Regions from separate parts of the Homo sapiens genome. Here region 1 is linked to region 2. Evidence: promoter capture Hi-C in human tissues and cell types (Jung and others, 2019). All regions are on one chromosome and are shown on one strand. The core of a region is centred on a gene start or on the middle of the fragment in contact, and the rest is flanking DNA. Distances in the headings are between cores, read along the strand shown.

Region 1 (4,372 bases), core at 1,736-4,235, 660 kb before region 2:
GGGGGCTCGAACTTGCCCCCTGGGTGGGGTGGGGCATAAATAGTCCCAGAGGATGGCCTGGGAAGGCTGGCTGGGCCTGGCACAGGGGACTTTACTGCTGTCATTATTGTCCTCCTTACAGGAGAGGAGAGCAAGGCCCAGACCGGGGAGGAACCCACACAGCCTCTGTGCTCCAGCCTGCTTGAAAGACAAGGTCTACCTACAACGCAGAGATGCACACATTAAGGACAATGAAACACCCAAGTGTTAGGAACCAGAATAATCAGCCCTAATAGAGGGGAGGCTGATCAGGGAGGGCCTCCTGGAGGAGGAGGCACAACATCAGGGTGCACTGTGATTTCTGGAGACCCAAGGAGTTCTGGTAAATGACAGGTGAGAAAAAGAAAATGTAATAAAATATAATTGAAAACAGACCCTGGTATGTGTGGAGAGAGGGCCGGGAGGAACCTAGGACACCGGGGAACCTGAACTCCCCCAACCAGTGAAGGGAGCTGTGGGCAGCAAGGTTTGATTGGGGTTTTCTTTCTTGTGGAGGTTTCTCAGAGTGATTCAAGTTCCCCCACCCCGCCCACAGATGGTTCTGAGACTTTGGAAAGAAAGAAAAGGAAAAAAGACCCTGCCCGCGCCCCAGCTGGGCATCCCTGGGAGGTCGCGAGGATCCCCGGAGACCCAGACTCGGGCCCGGGGCGCCCCCGGCCAGAGCGGCCCCTGGCTGCCTCCCTACGCCCCGCGACTCCGGTCCGGACGCCGAGGGCCTCGGCCTGCCCCTGTCCCCCGGCCGCCCCCCACCTGCTCCGGCCCGGCGGGGCGGTGCTGGGCCCGCGGGCTCCCCGGCCGCAGTGCAAACGCAGCGCCAGACACGCCCCGCCCGCGCCTCCCCGCCCCCCCGCGCCCGCGGCCCCAAGCGGTTCCCGAGCCCAGGCCCGCGCCGAGCCCAGGTGAGCGCCCGCCCCGGGGACCCTGGTCCCCGGAACCCCGGTCCCCGCCCGCCGCCCCGCCTCTTCGCCCCGGCGCCGGGGGCCAGCGCTTGCGCTCCCAAGTCTCGGACCCCGGCCCGGCACGTTAGGGGCTGGGGGTTGGCAAGCGGGGCCAGAGGCACTGGCCGGGGTCCGAAGCTCACCTCGTCCTTCTCTCGTCCCACAACGGCCCCTTCCCGGCTCGCCGCGGGGCCCCACTGTGTGCCAGTCCCCCTTCTCGGGCTGCAAGGTCTGGCGGGGGCAACGGGACGGAGCCGGCGAGGCTGCTGGCATCGGCTTCCCAGAGAGAGGGAACTGCACGTGCAGAGGCGGGGAGAGTGGACAGAGGCTTGCCCTGAGCTCCGTGGGGGAGGGGAGAGCGCGGAGCCCCCACACTCGAAGGCAGGACTGGGATCAGATGCCACCCCTAGGACGCCTGGAAGCCACTGGGAGTCCGATCTGGGCAGGAGCCCTTGGGATGAGGCAGTGGGGGCAGGTGGCGAGAGGTGGAGGAGTGGGGAGAGGACCCTGCCCAGCCTGCACCCTGGGGGCGCCAGGAGCCCTGGGAGGGTCAGGTGGAGCAGGGGCCGCTCTGTGAGATGGGAGTAATCCAGTCCCGCCTCACAGGTCCTGGGGTCCCTGGGACAGACACAGACTCCTGCTGGGTGGTTAGCACTGGGCTCTGCTAGAACTTTTCTGCAGTGGGCAGCTCATGGGCAAGGAATAGCACTCGGGCGCTCTGCACTCTGGGGGTCCCTCCTGCCCTGCCCCTGGCAAGGACCTTTGCCTTTGAGTGGGGTGACTGGGCTCCAAGCCGATCTAGCACACAGTAGGCCGAAGGCACAGGGGCCCCACCCAGTCTCCTTCCTGGCCCAGGCCCTGGGGGATTCAGGTCCCTGGGTACTCGGGAAGGGACAGCACAGCCTGGGCAGGTCCCCAGTGGCAAGACCAGGTCTGACCTTTTCTGGGATCTGTGGCCCATCAGGTGAGGCCTGAGGTCAGCCAGGAAGGAAGCGGGCAGGGCTGAACCAGGGCTGAAACCAGGACCCAGGAAGGGACAGCCTAGTGCCCAGGGAAGGGGCAGGTGGGGCAGGTGGCAGTTGAGTTTTACAGACCTTCTTTGATGACAAGTGGGGGAAAGAGCCAAGGCACGCCCCAGTGGCTGTGGGAGCCACCGCCTCCTCCCCTGTAATGGGCACCTCGAGGACCGACAGGCGCAGGGGCCAGGCACCAAGGGTCCCTCTCCAACCTGGCCTTTTGTTTCCACCCCTTGCTCTCAGGCACCCACCCACGGCCCTTCCTGGTATCTGGACCAGACCAGGTGGGTCTCAGCCCCACCTCAAGTGAGACTTCAGGAAGAACTTCCAGAGGAAACTGGAGGATGGCAGTGGGATGGACTGTGGGGAGGTCATTTGCAAACAAGGCAGCTTATGCCTGTGCCCTGGGCCTTCCAAAGTCCACCTGTAGGCTGCATCTTCCGGAAGGCCCACCCTGTAGCCTGGAAGGCACCTGGCTACAGTGATCTCTCTGCTGTGCAGGTGTCCCCTCCCCCAGGGCACCTTGCAGGGCCTTAGGGTGATATGGGGGCTTTCTGGGCCCCTGCCCACCTTAAAACTGATCAAGGTGGGAGGGTGGGGTGGGAGGCCACAGGGATGCCCCTGCTGCTTGACCTTGATGGGACCTTGACCCCTTGCTTTCCCCATATGCTGTTGGGCATGACTGCCCACAGGCCTGGTGGGCGTTTGTGAAGGGCTGGAGTCGGGGGTAGGGGGAGCTTATGGCTGCTGGGCACAGGCGTGGCAGGGCTGTGTGCCTGGCTTCCCTTTCCCCTAACCCCATCAGGCCCGGGCTGGCCGCCCACTTCTGTTCACCACAGAGCAGGGTTTCCCTGGGGACCAGTGGACTGGCCCAGCCCCACACCGCCCCCCAGCCCCTCCTGGCCACAGCTTGAGCTGGGAGGAGGGTGGAGGCTGGGCCGCCTCCTGGACCCCTGCCCTCCCTGCCCGGCCTTCCAAGGCCCGGCAGCCTCAGTCCACTGCTGGGCCTGGAACACGGAGCAGTGGCTGCCCTGCGAGGAGGTGGGTGTCCGGAGTGCTAGCCAGGGTGGGGCTGGGCTAGGGGGAGCCTGATGTCACCCCCATTGTAGGAGGGAGAAGACCAAGGATGAGAAGGGCTTTGGCTTCCCCAAGGTGACCCCCTCTTTGAGCCTAGGCATAGTGGTCTCCCGGGAGAATGGAGGGTCCCAGAGCTCTCAGGCTGTGGGATTTGGAGAGGGGAAGGGGGGCACGAGGAGGCAGTAGAAATCAGGGAGGATTTCCTGGGCAAGGCAGCCGCGGGGCTGGACGATGGGCGGCCGAGGTTCGGGCAGAGGAACTCCACTGGAGGAGTGAGGGAGCTGAGCTTGGAGGGCTTCAAAGGGGAGGTGACCTCCAGGGCCCCACGCTCTGGGATCAGGCTCACGCCATGGTTCCCAGCTCAAATGTAAGACTCTTTCCGAAGCTCCCACTGTCTCTCTCCGTCCCTCTGTGTCTCTACCTGCCCACACGCCCCGGTCCTGATGGCTCCAGTCTCCCCTGCAGGTCCTAGAGCAGCTCCAGCAGGATGGCGGCTCCAGCGTCTCTAAGGCCTGCAGGGGGTCCAGCCCCATGGGGGGCGCCCTAGGCCTCCGACAGCTCCCCATCTGTGCTCCTGCCTGCCGGCCATCCTCAGGCCACTCGCCATGGGCGGCTGCTTCTCCAAACCCAAACCAGGTACCTCCTGTCTTCTTGTCTCCATCCTTTCTCCTCCCTCCCCGCCTCCTCCTCCCCCGTCTCCCCCCCCTCCCCCTCTGCACTCGGTAGGCCTCCGAAGTAGGTCAGGCTATCCAAGAACCCGCTCGGAATGTTAATACGCTGCCGCCAGGAGGGGGTAGGGGGCCTGGAGCAGTTCCCCCAGCTGGCCCCTGCTCCAGTGGGTGCCCCTTTTTCTTTGGGGCTTTGAGTGTTGGTGGTGGGAATAACAGCAGGACCCTTCTTGGAAAAGGAAAGTCAGGGTTCCTCCTGTTGCAGGGTTGGGGAAGGGGCTATGCCCCCAGGGCCAGGGAAGGGGGGAGCTGGGGACACGCTCAGCCACTCTGTGACCTAGGGCATGCAAGTTACCCCTCTGAGCCTCTGTTTTTCTCTCTGCAAAAGAGAGGGCCTGGCCACCCTGACCTCTTAGAGTTGCTGTGAGGGTGTAGTGGGCAGATCCTGGCTCTCTTTGCCTCCTCTGATCCCCTGTGTGGTCTCGGGCTGCCTTCTTGGCCTTTCTGGGCACACTTCCCCATTTATACAGGAAATCACCATCCAACCTAGCCTGAGCTACTCCAGCCAGAAGTGGGAGTGTCCTGGGGTGCTAGGGGAGGCCTGGGTCTTTTCTCCACTAAAGACTCATGTCTG
Region 2 (4,293 bases), core at 1,529-4,028:
ATGCTATTTCATGAAATGAGACAAGGACCACATGGTATTCCATCTGCCTTTCCATCCTGCGGAGTGGTGCAGAAGGACTCTGTGCTCTAGAGGACTCGCACTGCCTTCCCCATCTGCTCCTGCACCTCAGGAGCTTTCAGCTAAGCCACATGCGGCCCCAGTCCACAGGGCATCCCTACATTGCCAGAAGTTAGGAACCATGGTATCCCATTTCCCGGGAAGACTGCTCCTCCTAGAAAAATTTAAATGTATTCCCACAGGGTTGCAGGGTCTCCTCACGCCTATCCCGTAGAATGGCTTACATCTAAACAGATGACTTTTGTTTTTGAGATGGAATTTCGCTCGTTACCCAGGCTGGAGTGCAGGGGCGCGACCTCGGCTCACCACAACCTCCGCCTCCCGGGTTCAAGCGATTCTCCTGCCTCAGCCTCTCCAGTAGCTGGGATTACAGACATGCACCACCAATGCCCAGCTAATTTTGTATTTTTAGTAGAGATGGGGTTTCTCCATGTTGGTCAGACTGGTCTCGCACTCCTGACCTCAGGTGATCTGCCCGCCTCGGCCTCCCAAAGTGCTGGGATTACAGGTGTGAGCCACCACACTCAGCCTACAGGTGACTTCTTAAATCAATACTGAGATTATAGTATTATGCCTCTTCCAAAGCAGCCTGGTGAGGACAATCTCCCACTCCCACCCTAAAAAGGAATAAAGAAAATTGCAGCATGAACAAAACCAGAATGGAGAATGGGCCATTTCCTGGAGTGGTTTGAGCCAAGAGGGAGCTGCTCTTTGTCCGTGCTTGTTTCTCTGAGGGTCTCCTGGGCACAGCTGATAAACCACCCAAGTTTGAAAGACACACGTTATTTTATTAATATAGCCATCTCTCCCCACTGCCCCAGTGGTGAAGGTGTTTGCATTGCAACATGGAGGGGCACCAAATGCTCTGCGGGCCCTAGCCCGCTGCCACAGGCTAGGCCTGCCTGCAGCCAAGAAGGCTGCTCAAACTCTAGATGCCATTTGGAGGCATGAGGACCTGAGCCCAGAGGTGGCAGTGTCCTACCCAGGGAAGTCAACAGATCGTGCTCCAGGTCCCAGCTCTGGGCTGGGCCAGGACTAAATCCTGGCTCCCCTTTCTTGGTACTAAGGGGATTAGTGCTTGGTTGTCTGTAGGGGGTCAGAGTAGGGAGGGTTCCAGGAAGGGTTCCAGAGTGGGCTCACAGGGGACCTCCTCCCCTGGCCTCTTGGAGTCCAGGTCGTCGAGGGCGCAAAGCTGCACGCCATCCTGGGCAAGCTGGGCCCGCAGCGTGGGCGCGGTGAGGACGCGCAGCTCATGCAGCCGCTCCCAAGAGCAAGAGAAAGCGTCGGGGCCTTCACCGCAGCCGCCGGTGGGAGGCACACTGGGGTAGCCGGGGTGCGCCATCAGCTCGGCTGTCAGGGTGTGGCCCGCTAGGGTACCTTCCAGGACCCGCGCCAGGGCCCCGGACACGCGGTGAGCGGACATGTGCCGGCCGCAAGTGCTCAGGCCCACGAAGGCGTCTGTCCACCTGTGGGGGGCGGGACATCAGAGGTGGGACCAGGCCGGGCCATGGCCAAGGGCTAGGTAGGCTAGGGAAGGGACGGCGGGGTGGGAGGGGGTAACTGGGGTGGCGGCAGCGGTCGACGCCAGACTCGCTTCCGGGTTGAGAAACGGACACAGCTAGCCAGGTGAACAGCCAGTGCGGAGGGACAGAGGCAGCTATGGTAGGAGACGGGGCGGGGAGCCTCACCGCAGGCCGTGGCGGGAGAAGGGGCCCACGGCGGCCCGGGCGTCGCGCTCCACGGCGCAGGCGAAGGCACGCGCGGGGGCCTCCAGCCAAGTGCAGCCACCCACACCGCGCTCCAGCGGCAGTCGCGTAAAGCGCACCCCATAGGCCTGCAGCGCCTCGGCGAACACCTGGCACACGCCTGCGGGCGGAGCGGGTCAGGGAGGAGCACGTCCTTTCACCTGGGGGCATCGAACTTCCCCTACTCCCCCAGCCCCGCCTGGGAGTAACGCCCTCCAAACTGGGATCACTAACCACGCACCTGGGAGCACGTGCACGTGCTGGTGCCCGTCCGCGTGCGTGGGGGCCCTGCCCAGCAGCTCCCGGAAGCAGCTTAGTTGGGCCTCGAGCTCCTCCCGCACCTAGAGGGCGAGCGAGAGACACCTTGAGCGACCGGGAGTAGCTGCCGAGGATACCCTCCTCGTGCTTCCGTGTGATGGCTCCAGTGTTTGAATGCGGAAGTCATCCACCGCCAGCTCCTAACGGCCTCACAGTACCCTCCGGGCGGAGCTCTGGGGGTCCTCGCGAGCATCCTCCTGTAGCTGCGGCTCCGCACCTGAGGCAAATCCACGTCTCCGGCCGCCACCGCCTCCCGGAATCCCATCTTGCCAAGGAAGAAGCCTTCCGGGCCGAGCAGCGATGAGGCGCCACGGCGGGCCGGACCCACGGGGCGGCCCTCGGACAGGTTGGCGTGGAGGCCCGTGGGGATGCTGTGCCTGAGGGCGGAGCGCGAGCTGGAGCACTAGCGGCCGCGGAGCCGCGCGCCCCAAGCCGATCGCCGCCCTGCTAGAGGCCCTCCCCTCACCTGCGGGCCAGCTCCGCCGCGCTCTCCGTGGCCGCACCGTTGACCAGCAGGGACACGCTGGTCACAGCCCCGGCCAGAAAGGCCTCCACGATACCCTCATCGCGTCGCGGGCAGTAACCAAAGTCGTCCGCGGTGACCACCAGGCGCATGCGAGGGCGGGACATGGCCGCCTGGGTCCACCGCTCGCGCTCCCAGGGGAGTGGGCCGGACAGCCCAGGCCCCGCCCCCGGACGCTGCCCGGGCCCCGCCCCGACGCACACGCCCAGGTGCGGCTGCACTTCGCCTTTGTTCTCGCCACCTAGCGGTCCGGCGTGCCCCTGCAAGGACCCGGCAACTGCTCCCGCGCTAACCAGACCAGTGATGGATTCATTGCAATGCGGAACTTTCCTTGACTGCAAAAGTGATATTTAATATGTAAAATATCAAAAGGAAGCCGGGCGCAGTGGCTCACGCCTGTAATCCCAACACTTTGGGAGGCCGAGGCGGGTGGATCACGAGGTCAGGAGTTCAAGGCCAGCCTGGCCAACATGGGGAAACCCCGTCTCTATTAAAAATACAAAAATTAGCCGGGAGTGGTGGCACGCGCCTGTAATCCCAGCTACTCGGGAGGCTGAGGCAGGAGCGTGGCTTGAACCCGGGAGGCGGAGGTTGTGGTGAGCCGAGATCGCACCACTGCACTCTAGCCTGGGCGATAGAGCGAGACTCCGTCTCAAAAAAAAAAAAAAAAAAAAAAAAGAATCTCCTACCCTTCCCAGAGATTGCCATTGTAAACTTTCTGGGTTGTGTCCTTCCAGTGTTTTCTCTAAGCAAATAAACACACCCAACTCCCTTTCTCCCCAACCCAACTTTTTTGTGTGTTGTTTTGAGAACATAAAGATGATTATATCAATGTTATCACATTCTAGTAGTTTCTTAGCAGTGCGAATGAAAATTTTCATATTATTAGCTATTTTTATTCTTTTTCAAATTGCCTATTGATCTTTTGCAGATTTTTCTAAGAGCAGGCATTTTCTTGATTTGTTGATTTTTTTTTTTTCTTGAGCTCTAGACACTAAGAAAATGAAAGAAAGCATATACACTAAGGCTTCATTTGAGAAAACATTATCTCCAGTTTCCATCTTGAGCTCTCTGCCAGGCTACAGCTTTTACATTCATAACTTCACTGTTTTCTCTTTGGTCCAGAAAAGCTTTCCTTACCCATGACTGTATAAATAGTCATTATGGTTGGCAGCCACAGTTTCCATTGCAATGTGACAGTCTTGATTTTTCCCATGGAAAGTGTGGTATTTGTGTCCGGGCTATGAAATTGGTAATGTCATTCCTGTTTCACAGATGAGGAAACTGGGGTTCAGAGAGCGAAAGTGTGGTCCTGCCAGGAGTAGTGGAGCTAAGACTGAACCTCACACCTCGGGGCCAGCACCCAGGCCTGCTATGTCCTCTCTGTCCCTGACCTAGTGGGTAGCCAGAGCTGAGAGGACAGAGCAGAGCTTGAGAGGAACAATATTTCGTGAGGCATGTGAGGATTGAAAGCCTCATAGAGTCCTTCAGCCATGCTCTTGGCATAAGGACTGATGTGTTTATAGTGACTGGTGAATTGTCAGACCTCAACCAACCACCGTTCTCCACTGGAAGCTGATCTTGGAAAGGTCAGAGGTCCCGAGGGTCTGCAGGTGGGAAGGAGGAGAC

The links. The method cuts DNA at HindIII sites, captures the fragments that hold promoters and counts their contacts. A contact is called where the count stands out against the background at its distance.
Region 1: the fragment with the promoter of AIFM3 here is called in contact with the fragment with the promoter of YDJC in region 2 in 2 of the 25 tissues and cell types used here (lymphoblastoid cells and mesenchymal stem cells).

What each region holds. Positions count from the first base shown.
Region 1 is chr22:20,964,270-20,968,641 of GRCh38, forward strand. AIFM3 (AIF family member 3) reads left to right here and starts at 2,986. Exons shown (of 21, transcript NM_001386814.1): 1 at 2,986-3,034; 2 at 3,536-3,706. The coding sequence starts at 3,676. It overlaps LINC01637 (long intergenic non-protein coding RNA 1637), which reads left to right. Exons shown (of 2, transcript NR_110537.1): 2 at 122-411. The HindIII fragment of the contact is 23,315 bases long and covers 1-4,372 here.
Region 2 is chr22:21,627,244-21,631,536 of GRCh38, forward strand. It overlaps YDJC (YdjC chitooligosaccharide deacetylase homolog), which reads right to left and starts at 2,779. Exons shown (of 5, transcript NM_001017964.2): 1 at 2,608-2,779; 2 at 2,359-2,518; 3 at 2,065-2,164; 4 at 1,767-1,944; 5 at 846-1,544. The coding sequence starts at 2,771. The coding sequence ends at 1,175. RefSeq lists an enhancer at 613-1,220 and silencers at 1,726-1,815, 2,726-3,005. The HindIII fragment of the contact is 8,887 bases long and covers 1-4,293 here.